Linked DNA regions of Homo sapiens: all the other regions are linked to region 3. Evidence: promoter capture Hi-C in human tissues and cell types (Jung and others, 2019). All regions are on one chromosome and are shown on one strand. The core of a region is centred on a gene start or on the middle of the fragment in contact, and the rest is flanking DNA. Distances in the headings are between cores, read along the strand shown. Region 1 overlaps RASIP1 (Ras interacting protein 1). Region 2 holds the start of SLC17A7 (solute carrier family 17 member 7). Region 3 holds the start of NTF4 (neurotrophin 4).

Region 1 (3,170 bases), core at 671-3,170, 340 kb after region 3:
CGCCTATAATCCCAACACTTTGGGAGGCCTAAGTAGGTGGATCACTTGAGGCCAGGAGTTTGAGACCAGCCTGGCCAACATGGCGAAACGCTGTCTCTACTAAAAATACAAAAATTAGCCAGGCTTGATGGCGCACGCCTGTAATCCCAGTTACTCTGGAGGCTGAGGGAGGAGAATCGCTGGAACCTGGGAGGCAGAAGCTGCAGTGAGCCAAGATTGCACCATTGCACTCCAGCCGGGGCGACAGAGCGAGACCCTGTCTCCAGAAAAAAAAAAAAAAAAAAAGTTTCCAGGGTCCCTCACTCAGACATGCTGAGTCAGAAAGTGTGGTATGAGACAAAGGAACATGATGATTAAAACATTCATTGAACATGAACTACCTGCCAGGCACCCTGTTTAGCACTTCTAGTTTAATGCTGACAAAGCCCCATCGAAGTAGGTGACTGACTGTTTTTTGGATGAGGAAACAGAATCAGGTAGGACAGGTCGCTTGATTTCACTTATTTTTCCTTTTTTTTTTTTTTTTTTTGAGACGGAGTCTCACTCTGTCACCCAGGCTGGAGTGCAATGGCATGATCTCGGCTCACTCCAACCTCCGCCTCCCGAGTTCAAGCGATTCTCCTGCCACAGCCTCCTGAGTAGCCGGGATAACAGGCACGCGCCACCACACCCGGCTAATTTTTGTAATTTTGGTAGAGACAGGGTTTCACCTTGTTGGGCAGACTGGTCTTGAACTCCTGACCTCAGGGGATGCGCCTGCCTCGGCCTCCCAAAGTGCTGGGATTACAGGCGTGAGCCACCATGGCCGGCCAATTTCAATTATTTATTTTCCTTTCTTCTTAAATATCTTACAAAAACTGTTCCCCATAGACATTTATTTATTTATATCAAATGTTTATAATGGGCTGGGCGTAGTGGCTAATGCCTGTAATGCCAGCATTTTGGGAGGCCGAGGTGGAAGGACCGCTTGAGCCCAGGAGTTTGACACCAGTTGGCAACATAGGGGAGACACCATCTCTACCAAAAATTTTAAAAATTAGCCAGGTGTGGAGGCACACGTCTGTGGTCCCAGCCACTCCAGAAGCAGAGGTGGAAGGACTGCTTGAGCCCAGGAGGTTGAGGCTGCAGTGAGCCACAGTCATGCCACTGTACTCCAGCATGGGTGACAAAGCAAGACCCTGTCTCAAAACAATAAGAAAGAAAGTTTACCATGCATTTAATAAGCCCCAGGCAGTGTTCCAAGTACTTTACAATTTTGCCATATTGCATCCTCATACCAACTCTATTAGATAGTTCCTGTTCTCCAAATTTATGGATGAGGAGACTAGGGGACGGTGACCTGCCGGAAGGTAATAAGTGACCCACCTGGGATTTTTGAACTCAGGCAGTCTAGGTGGAGTCTCTGATGTTAAGCACATTGATGGTTCTGACGTCAGCTACATCAGGTGTAGACATTGTCAAACAGATATAGAGTGGCCGCCATAGAATAATGAATCCCAACTGGGCGCAGTGGCTCATGCCTGTAATCCTAGAACTTTGAGAAGCTTGAGACCAGCCTGGGCAGCATAGTGAGATCCCATCTCTACAAAAACTTAACCAGGTGTGGTGGCGTGTGCCTGTAGTCCCAGCTACTCTGGAGGCTGGGGCCAAGGATCACTTGAGCCCAGGATCACTTGAGCCGGGAGTTTGAGGCTGCAGCAAGCCACGATCGAGCCACTGCACTCCAGCCTGGGCGACGGAGTGAGACCCTGTCTCTTTAAGGACAAAAAAAAAAAAAAAAAAAAAAAATCCCCAAGTACCATCGCCAGATTCAATAATATAAACGAATGGCCAATCTTATTTATTTCCACCCTACTCATTTCCTGTATCCTCAATTATCCTGAGGCACATCACATTTTTACAAATTGCTGGGAGCACACCCTTCCCCACCATCACTTTGGTGATAAACAGACTTCACAGTGCCCAGAAGACACTGCAGAGATGCCATTATCTTCCCACCACACCCACTCCCCTTATGGAAGCCCTTCCATTTCATTTCTTAACTGCCCCGTAATGACCATCAACCTCTCACCTGGTCTTCCCACCAGGCTTCATGGAGCAGCCTAAGAACCGACCACCCCACCTTGACCCCCGCCCAGCTGCACCATCTGCTCAGCCACTATCAGCTGGGCCCTGGCCGCGGGCCGCCAGCCGCGTGGGACCCTCCCCCTGCAGAGCGGGAGGCTGTGGACACAGGTGAGGAGCAATGGGATACAGCATTGGGGCTGTCAGCTTTCTTCTTCTTTTGAGACGGAGTCTCGCCCTGTCACTCAGGCTGGAGTGCAATGGCGCGATCTTGGCTCACTGCAACCTCTGCCTCCCGGGTTCAAGCGATTCTCCTGCCTCAGCCTCCCGAGTAGCTGGGATTACAGGCATGCGCCACCACGCCTGGCTAATTTTTTGTATCTTTAGTAGAGACGGGGGTTTCACCGTGTTGGCCAGGCTGGTCTCGAACTCCTGACCTCGTGATCCGCCCGCCTCGGCCTCCCAAAGTGCTGGGATTACAGGCGTGAACCACCTCACCTTTCTTCTTTTCTCAGGATCTTGGAGTCCAGATCCCCAGTCTCCTTCTAACCCCAGATTCTGGACCCCTGTCCCTCCCCACCAGGACATAAGTGCAGGACCCAGCCCCTTCCCCCGTCAAGATACAGGAGTTCAAGCCCCCAGCTCCCTTTATTCTCTGGGGTTCGCATCCCTAGTCCATTCCCTCCACCAGCCACCCACCCACCACCCCTAGGAGTCCAGGTCTCGGGACTTTCACTCCCCTGAACTTGACTCCTCCACCTTTAGGAATCTGTAAGGCAAGTTCCCAGCCCTTTCTCGGGGATTTGGGAAGCCGTTTCCCAGGCAACGGTGGCCTTCCATCGTCTGAACTACAACTTCCATCATGCCCAGGGGCTCCTAGAGTAGCGTGTGAACGGACCCCGCCCCAGGAGTTGCTGGGGTTTGTAGTTTTTTTCTTCCTTTGGGTGTGACGCAGCCTCGGCTCTTCCCGATGCAACTACCTCACTCCCACTTTCAGACTCTAACCGCGCCGCCTTCGGCCTCACAGGGGACATCTTCGAAAGCTTCTCCTCGCACCCGCCCCTCATCCTCCCCCTGGGGAGCTCGCGCCTGCGCCTCACTGGTCC
Region 2 (3,542 bases), core at 688-3,187, 380 kb before region 3:
TCCCAGGGGTTTCTCAAAGCTGTGAGACCCAGAGACACAGCCAGTCAAGGCTGGAAGCGAGAGGCTGCGGCGGTCAGTGGCTTCCCGGCCACCCCGTCCTTGGCGCCCGCCCGACGCGCCGTCTGCTCCTCCCACCCCACCGCGGGCCGCATCATGAAAATTTAATACCAAATGCATTTGCGGCCCGACGCGGGGAGGTAGTGGGGAAAGGATCACCCTCCTGGGGCCTGGATCTGGAGGTGGACTCAGCGCCGGGAGATGGGCTGGTCTGAGGACAGGAGCGGGGCGGGACCCTGTCTGCGGGCCCAGGACAGGGAAGGGCCGGGCTCTACCCAACGGGGCGGCGCTGGAATTCCGGCGTGGAGACAGAGTTCGGTGGGCGGGGACAGATTCCGGGGGTGGGAGCAGGACTGGGAGGGCAGGGACAGATCCCAGAGGCGGAGGCGGTGGGCGGGGGACAGATCCCATGGGGCAGGGGCAAGACTGGGAGGGCGGGGACAGATCTCAGGGGCGGAGGCCAGAGCTCGGTGGGCGGGGTCAGATTCCGGGGGCGGAGGCAGGACTGGGAGGTCGAGGACAGATCCCAGTGGCGAGGGTCAGAAGTCGGAGGGCGGGGACAGATCCCATGGGGCCGGGGCAAGACTGGGAGGGTAGGGAGAGATCCAGGGGGCGGGGAGAACTGGGTGGGCGGGGACAGATCCCATGGGGCAGGGGTAGAACACAGAGGGCGGGGACAGATCCCAGGGACGGAGGCCAGAACTCGGTGGGTGGGGACAGATTCCAGGGGGCAGAGATAGATCCTGTGGGGAAGGGGTAGAACTCAGATGGCAGGAACAGATTCCAGGGGGCAAGGACAGAACTGAGAGGGCGGGAACAGAGCCAGGGACAGATCCTAGGAGAAGGGGACACAACTCCAACGGTGGGGAGAGAACTCAGAGGGCGGGGGCAGAACTCAGGTCAGCGACAGATCCTAGGGGAGGAGACAAATTCAGAGGGCGGGTGAGGATGCCAGGGGGTGCGGATCACAATTTAGGGGGCGGGACAGATCTCAGGGGGTGGAGACAGAACTCAAATAGAGGAATGGATCCCCCGGAGCTAGGGAAGAACTCAGAGCGCGGACAGATCCCAGAGGAGCAGAGAAATAACACAATGGGGAGACTATGGGGTCGCAGCTGGCACTGGCGGGGTGTGTGAAATATAACTGTGGGGGGCGGAAGCCAGAGGGAAGAAAATCGGGGTTAGGGAATGAAACTCAGGGAGAGAAGCAACAGGGAGGAGAGAGACGCCGGAGGGAGAATAGAGCTGGAGGAGTATGGGATTCAAAGGGGAAAGATGGAAACTAAGGAGGAGATGGAGCTCAAGGGTGAAGAACCCGGGTGGCGAAAGGGACTAGAGGGGGACGACAGGTGGATCGAAGTAGGCGTTGGACTTGAGGGGAAAGAATTTCCCTTGAATGAGAAAACAAAGAACTCCCTGGATGAGACTATTGGAACTGGGGACGAGGTGGGATGGGGATGGAATTGCGGGGTGGGGGCGGGGAGGAGTGAAGGAACTGGAGGATGAACGCAGAGGGAAAGTCAGAGAAGACAGGATTGTAAGGGACGCAATTAGGGGGAACAGAAGTCGGGGAGAGAAATGATGGGGATGAGAACTCAGGAGAGGAGAGAAAATCTGGGTAGGAGCCAGGGGTGATGGAACAGGGATAGGGGGAGTAGCCTGGGGAAGGAACAGAATTGGGGGGCGTGAACTCGGAGGCGTGAGTTCAGAACCCACAGGCGTGGTCTTGGAAGGCTCAGGAGGGGACAGGACGAGGATGAAAGGGCTGCGAGAGGGGGCGGGTCTGACAGACGAGGGGAGGGGCCTGGTGGGGCCGGGGCGGGGCCTCCCGCGCCCCGCCCCCGGCGCTGAGTCCTGTGACAGCCCCCGGGCCGCCTGCACTTGCAGCCTCCTTCCCCCCGAGCGGAGCTGCGGGGCCGGCCGGGCCGGGGCTGGACCCCGGGAACCCGGACGCGGCCGCCCGGGCCCGCGGGCGGGGGGATCGGCGGGGGGGACCCGCGGGGTGACCGGCGGCAGGAGCCGCCACCATGGAGTTCCGCCAGGAGGAGTTTCGGAAGCTAGCGGGTCGTGCTCTCGGGAAGCTGCACCGGTGAGCCTGGCGGGGGTCCCGGGAGAAGAGTGGGAGGATCTGAGGAGGATGCTAATTCCCACCTGGGCGCAGACTGACAGATGAACGGGCGATACCCCGGCATGGGGGTCCACCCATCTGTCCAGTTTTCTGCCGTGGGCTCCGACGGCGCTGTTCTCCCTGGTCGAGCCTTGTCCATTATCCTGTTCCTTTTTCTGCACCCCACCCCACCCGGCTCCACTCTCTCTGGTGCTGTAAATGCCTCTCTCCCGGGTCTCTGGCTCCTCCCCCACCACTTCTGGGTCTCTGTCCCCGTCTCTTTCTGGATGTCTCTGCCCCTTTTCTCTCTGGGTCTCCGTCTCCCTCTTTTTCCAGATCTCGGCTCCCTTCTCTCTGGGCCCCTCCTTCTCCCTAGATCTCTGCCTCCGCTTCTTTGCGTCTCTGTGCCCCTCTCTCTGGTTCTCTGGCCATTGCTCTCACTGGATCTCTATCAACTCCTGACTCAGAGTCTCTGTCCCCCTCTTTCTGGGTCTCTCCTCTTCCCTGGATCTCTGGTCCCCACTTCTCTGGGTCCCTGTCCCCGTCTCTGTGTTTTAATTCTCCCACCATGGGTCTCTCCGTCTCTCTGTGTCTTTTTCCGTTTCTGTCTGGCATGGAGTTTAATCTGCAGCTAAAGCGGATTGGGGCTCATAGCCCGTTGTCCTTGAGGGGGTGAGGCTGGGTGGAAGAAGTCACAGCACCCTGGGTCCCTGGGAGAGAAAGGAGTTAGAGGCCAAAAATTTCGGCTCCTGGGGTAGGACAGCCTTCCCAAAGGATACAGGCTGGGGCTGACAGGGACTCCCTCCCAACCAGGTTGATGACCCCAGTGAACCGAGTGTCCCTCAGGATAATCTGGACACCTCCCCACAGGCTCTCACCCCCAACCCCAGCTTTGGCTCTAAGTCAGATAAATTACTCAGCTGCGGAAAAGCCTAAAAATATATCTGGCCACAGTGCACGAAGGAGATGGCCTCATCAGCACCATGCCCCTGCCGCCGTGCCCTCAGGCCCTGTCCCCTTGGCCCACAGCCCTGACCCTGTGTTTCGCTGAGCTTCAGTCCACCTCGCTAGGCCATGGGGGTCCTTTGCTAAGTCTAACATCAGTCTTGCTTGCTGCAGATCACCTCTTAGCTCCAAAGTTACCCCACCCTCTAGTAACATGAGAGACAAGAATAAGGCTGGACAGAAGTGGGGGGAGGTGGGCAGGAGGATGGTGCAGTGACGGAGGTTGGTGGTGGAGGGGAAGCTGAGATAACCTCACCCCTTCTTTTTCCAATTTTCCAGCCCCTCCCCACCCTTTTTCTCGCCTCCTTTCACGAGTTTCTCAAAATACATCAGTGTGAAGTCAGGAGAATGAGAGAGAGAGAAAGAGACGTGC
Region 3 (3,287 bases), core at 391-2,890:
AGATAGGGGGACAGAGACTGTTTCCCAGTCACTCTGTTTGGAAACCTCATCCCTACTATCCCCTCCAGGACTAGAAGCTAGAAGCTAGAAGCTAGAGTCCTCCTGCTATGCGGCAGGATGTATTGGCTGTTTAGGAACAGGGGAAGGGTGGAGAAGCCGGAGAGGTGACCTGAATGCACACCCAAAGCCTGGGAAGTGGCCCTTCCCCCCACCCCCAATAAATAACTGGAGCGGCCTTGTGTGTTGCCTTGGCTGGGATGGTGAGGAGCAGGAAACACCCTAACCGGGGACACCCTCCTGCCACCTTGCCATGCTATATTTAGGCTGAGGGGGTGTGGGATGACCCTCGAGGCAGGTGTCAGTTTTCCTTCTGAAAATAGCGCAGGCGGAGGGGAGCGGAGTCTCAGGGTAGAGGTGTGGTGGGGTGAGGAGCCCCGCTGCCCTCATGACTGTCCTGAGACACTCCGGCTCCGGTCCCATCCCTGTCTTTCTCAGGGTCTCTCAGGGGCTCTGTCCCCTTCTCGGGGGGGTGGGGGGGTCTGCCCTCACGCTCTCTGGGCCTCTGTCTTCTCTCTGGGCTCCTGCCCTCCCCCACTCTCTCTAGTCTCGGTCCCCCTCTTTCTTTTGGTCTCTCCCCACTTTTCCATGTCTTCTCCCTATCTCTCCCTTCATGTCACCGCGCACCATTTCTCAAGGTAGCTGATTGTTCTTAAGACACATCTGTCTATCTCTGGTCCTATGATACCTTGCACGTCTCTTATCTGAGCTCAGGACAAGACCTTCTCCCCGGTCCCCAGCCAGGAAATTCCAGGGGAGAGGAGTATGCGGGAGCCCCCACATCCACTGTCTCCCCGGGCCTGGGGCCTTATCACTGCCCAAGCCCAGCTGGTTAATGTCTGGCGTGGAGCTCCTGGGAAGTGGGGAGGAGAGCAGAGGGTGGGAATCTGCCCCGGGATTGACACGCAATTGGCAAAAGACGGCAAAGGAATCTCAGGCCCAGACTCCTGGGGCTAATGGAGGAGGAGGCTGGGGGCTGGACTCCTGAGTCTGAGACGGGGCGGGGTTGGGAGGTGGTGGGGGGAACTGTGGGCTTAGTACTCAGGCGCCTGGGGCTGGGGGGAGAGGTGGCTGGGGTCGCAAGTCCTGGGTCTGAGGGAGGAGGGGCCGGATGCCTGGACTCCTGGGTCTGAAGGGAGGAGGGGCTGGGGGCCTGGACTGCTAGGTCCAAAGGAGGAGGCAGCTGGAAACTGGGACTCCTGTGACCAAGGCGGCCGCGTTGAACGAGCCAGGCCTGGCTTCCAAGGTCCCGGCACGCGAGTGCAAGGCAGGATCCCCCGGCCCCTCCTCTGCCGCCCGGCGCCGCCCCGCCCCCGCCCCCGACCCGGGCCCTGCGGAGCGTGAGCAGCTAGCACCCGGCGGGCCAGCGAGCGTCCCTGCAGCCAGCGAGCAGGAGGAGGAGCTGCTGCCGGGCGGAGGGCAGCCGCGGGAGCCGAAGAGGGCGCCCCAGGTAAGATCTCCACTCCTCCTCCCTCGGGATTCCGGCGTCCTGGTCGCCCTGCCCTCGGGTGGGGAGGGACGGGGGCGGGGCCGACCGGGGCGGGGCTTGGCGGAGGAAACTGAGGCAAGAGGGAAGTGTCCCAGATATGCAGCCGGTTTCCCCTGAGGGGTCTCGGAGTCCGGAACCCCCAACCCAAATCTGGAGGATGAGGAACCCGGAGTCTGCATTTCTTAGTATCCGAGAAGGAGGGGCCTGAATTCCAGAACTCCTGGGTCTGAGAGAGGAGGGCACTGGGGGCCTGGATTCCTGGGTCTGAGGGAGAAGGGCGCTGGGGGCATGGACTCCTGGGTCTGAAGGAGGAGGGCGCTGGGGACCTGGACTCCAGGGTCTGAGGGAGAAGGGTGCTGGGGGCCTGGGCCTGGACTCCTCCTGGGTCTGAGGGAGAAGGGTGCTGGGGGCCTGGACTTCTGGGTCTGAGAGAGGAGGGCGCTGGGGGCCTGGACTACTCCTGGGTCTGAGGGAGGAGGGCGCTGGGGATCTGAACTCCTGGGTCTGAAGGTGGAGGCCCTGGGGTCTGCACTACTCGGTCTGAGGGAGAAGGCGGTCCTGGTTGGGTCAGCCTGGGCTCCTTTCACTCTCCACCCTTCCCCTTTCCTGTACCGAGGAGCCAGGGCAGGCAGCCACTCCAGGTATGTGCAGAAGTCTTGGGCGGGCCCTGGCCTGTCCTGTGAGGAGGGAACATTCCAGGAAGCAGCTTGGGGAACCAGGGCTTCTTGAGTGTGGGCCCTCAGGGACCCGGGTGTCCAGGCCAGTTCCGCCCCATCTGGGAGATGAATGGGCCGAGGGGGATGTAATCTCTTCCAGCCTCCTTCATCCACTGCCTCTCCCTTCCCCTATTCTCCCTTCCCCTCCCTCCATCTGCTTCCCATCCCAGCCAGGAGCCATCACCTGGGTAGAAAAGGGGCCTCTGGAAAGGGGGCGGGGCCTTGACTCTTGGGTACCCTGCACTTGAAGAGGAACTCTGGGAAGGGGTTGTTCAGGGATTTGGCCCCTTCCCCACCTGCCTCTATAACCTGTCTATTCTTTTCTTCCCCTAGGTGGTTGCCCCCTCCCTCTCCTGAGATGTCAGGAAGGAGGGGGCCACCTGTGTCCTCCACAGGGGCCCCCCGAAGCCTGGGGACTCCCAGCCCCAGAGCTCCGAGGCGGAGGAGGTGCTGACAGGTCTGGTAACTACTGACTGTTTCCCAGTCTTCTCCACGCCACCCTTTCCCAGAACCACAGGCTTCCAGAATGTTGTAGGGAAACTGCAAAATCCGCGCCTCCACCAGCCTCTCCCAGCGCCAGGTCAATTTCACACACAGGGAAACTGAAGCCTGCCTCAGAGGGGCAGCGTTTTACCTCCTTAGTGGCAGTTTTGAGGTGAACTGGGGTCTCCCTAGGATTCCAGGTTGTGACCTTTCTCTAAATTGTGGAATGTGGCCAGGCGTGGTGGCTTGAGTCTGTAGTCCCAGCTACTCAGGAGGCTGAGGCAGGAGAATGCCATGAACTTGGGAGGCGGAGCTTGCAGTGAGCCAAGATCGTGCCACTGCACTCCAGCCTGGGCGACAGAGGGAGATTCCATCTCAAAAAAAAAAAAAAAAAAATTTTGTTTGGGACCAGGCATGGTGGCTTATGCTTGTAATCCCAGCACTTTGGGAGGCCAGGACACGACTATTGCTTGAGGTTGGGAGTTCAAGACCAGTCTGGCCAACATGGTGAAACCCCATCTCTATTAAAAATACAAAAATTA

Evidence for each region. Contacts are between HindIII fragments. The study calls those that stand out against the background at their distance.
Region 1: a fragment that was not itself captured here is called in contact with the fragment with the promoter of NTF4 in region 3 in 2 of the 25 tissues and cell types used here (lymphoblastoid cells and mesenchymal stem cells).
Region 2: a contact is called between the fragment with the promoter of SLC17A7 here and the fragment with the promoter of NTF4 in region 3, in 2 of the 25 tissues and cell types used here (dorsolateral prefrontal cortex and liver).

Annotation. Positions count from the first base shown.
Region 1 is chr19:48,720,919-48,724,088 of GRCh38, reverse strand. It overlaps RASIP1 (Ras interacting protein 1), which reads left to right. Exons shown (of 12, transcript NM_017805.3): 11 at 2,088-2,235; 12 at 3,092-3,170. Among named protein-coding and RNA genes, the nearest start is that of MAMSTR, 2.8 kb to the right of the region's middle. RefSeq lists enhancers at 3,024-3,073, 2,778-3,170 and a cis regulatory region at 3,041-3,170. The HindIII fragment of the contact is 3,220 bases long and covers 311-3,170 here.
Region 2 is chr19:49,439,922-49,443,463 of GRCh38, reverse strand. It overlaps SLC17A7 (solute carrier family 17 member 7), which reads left to right and starts at 1,937. Exons shown (of 12, transcript NM_020309.4): 1 at 1,937-2,146. The coding sequence starts at 2,085. The HindIII fragment of the contact is 22,755 bases long and covers 1-3,542 here.
Region 3 is chr19:49,063,171-49,066,457 of GRCh38, reverse strand. It overlaps NTF4 (neurotrophin 4), which reads left to right and starts at 1,640. Exons shown (of 2, transcript NM_006179.5): 1 at 1,640-2,719. The HindIII fragment of the contact is 9,200 bases long and covers 1-2,848 here.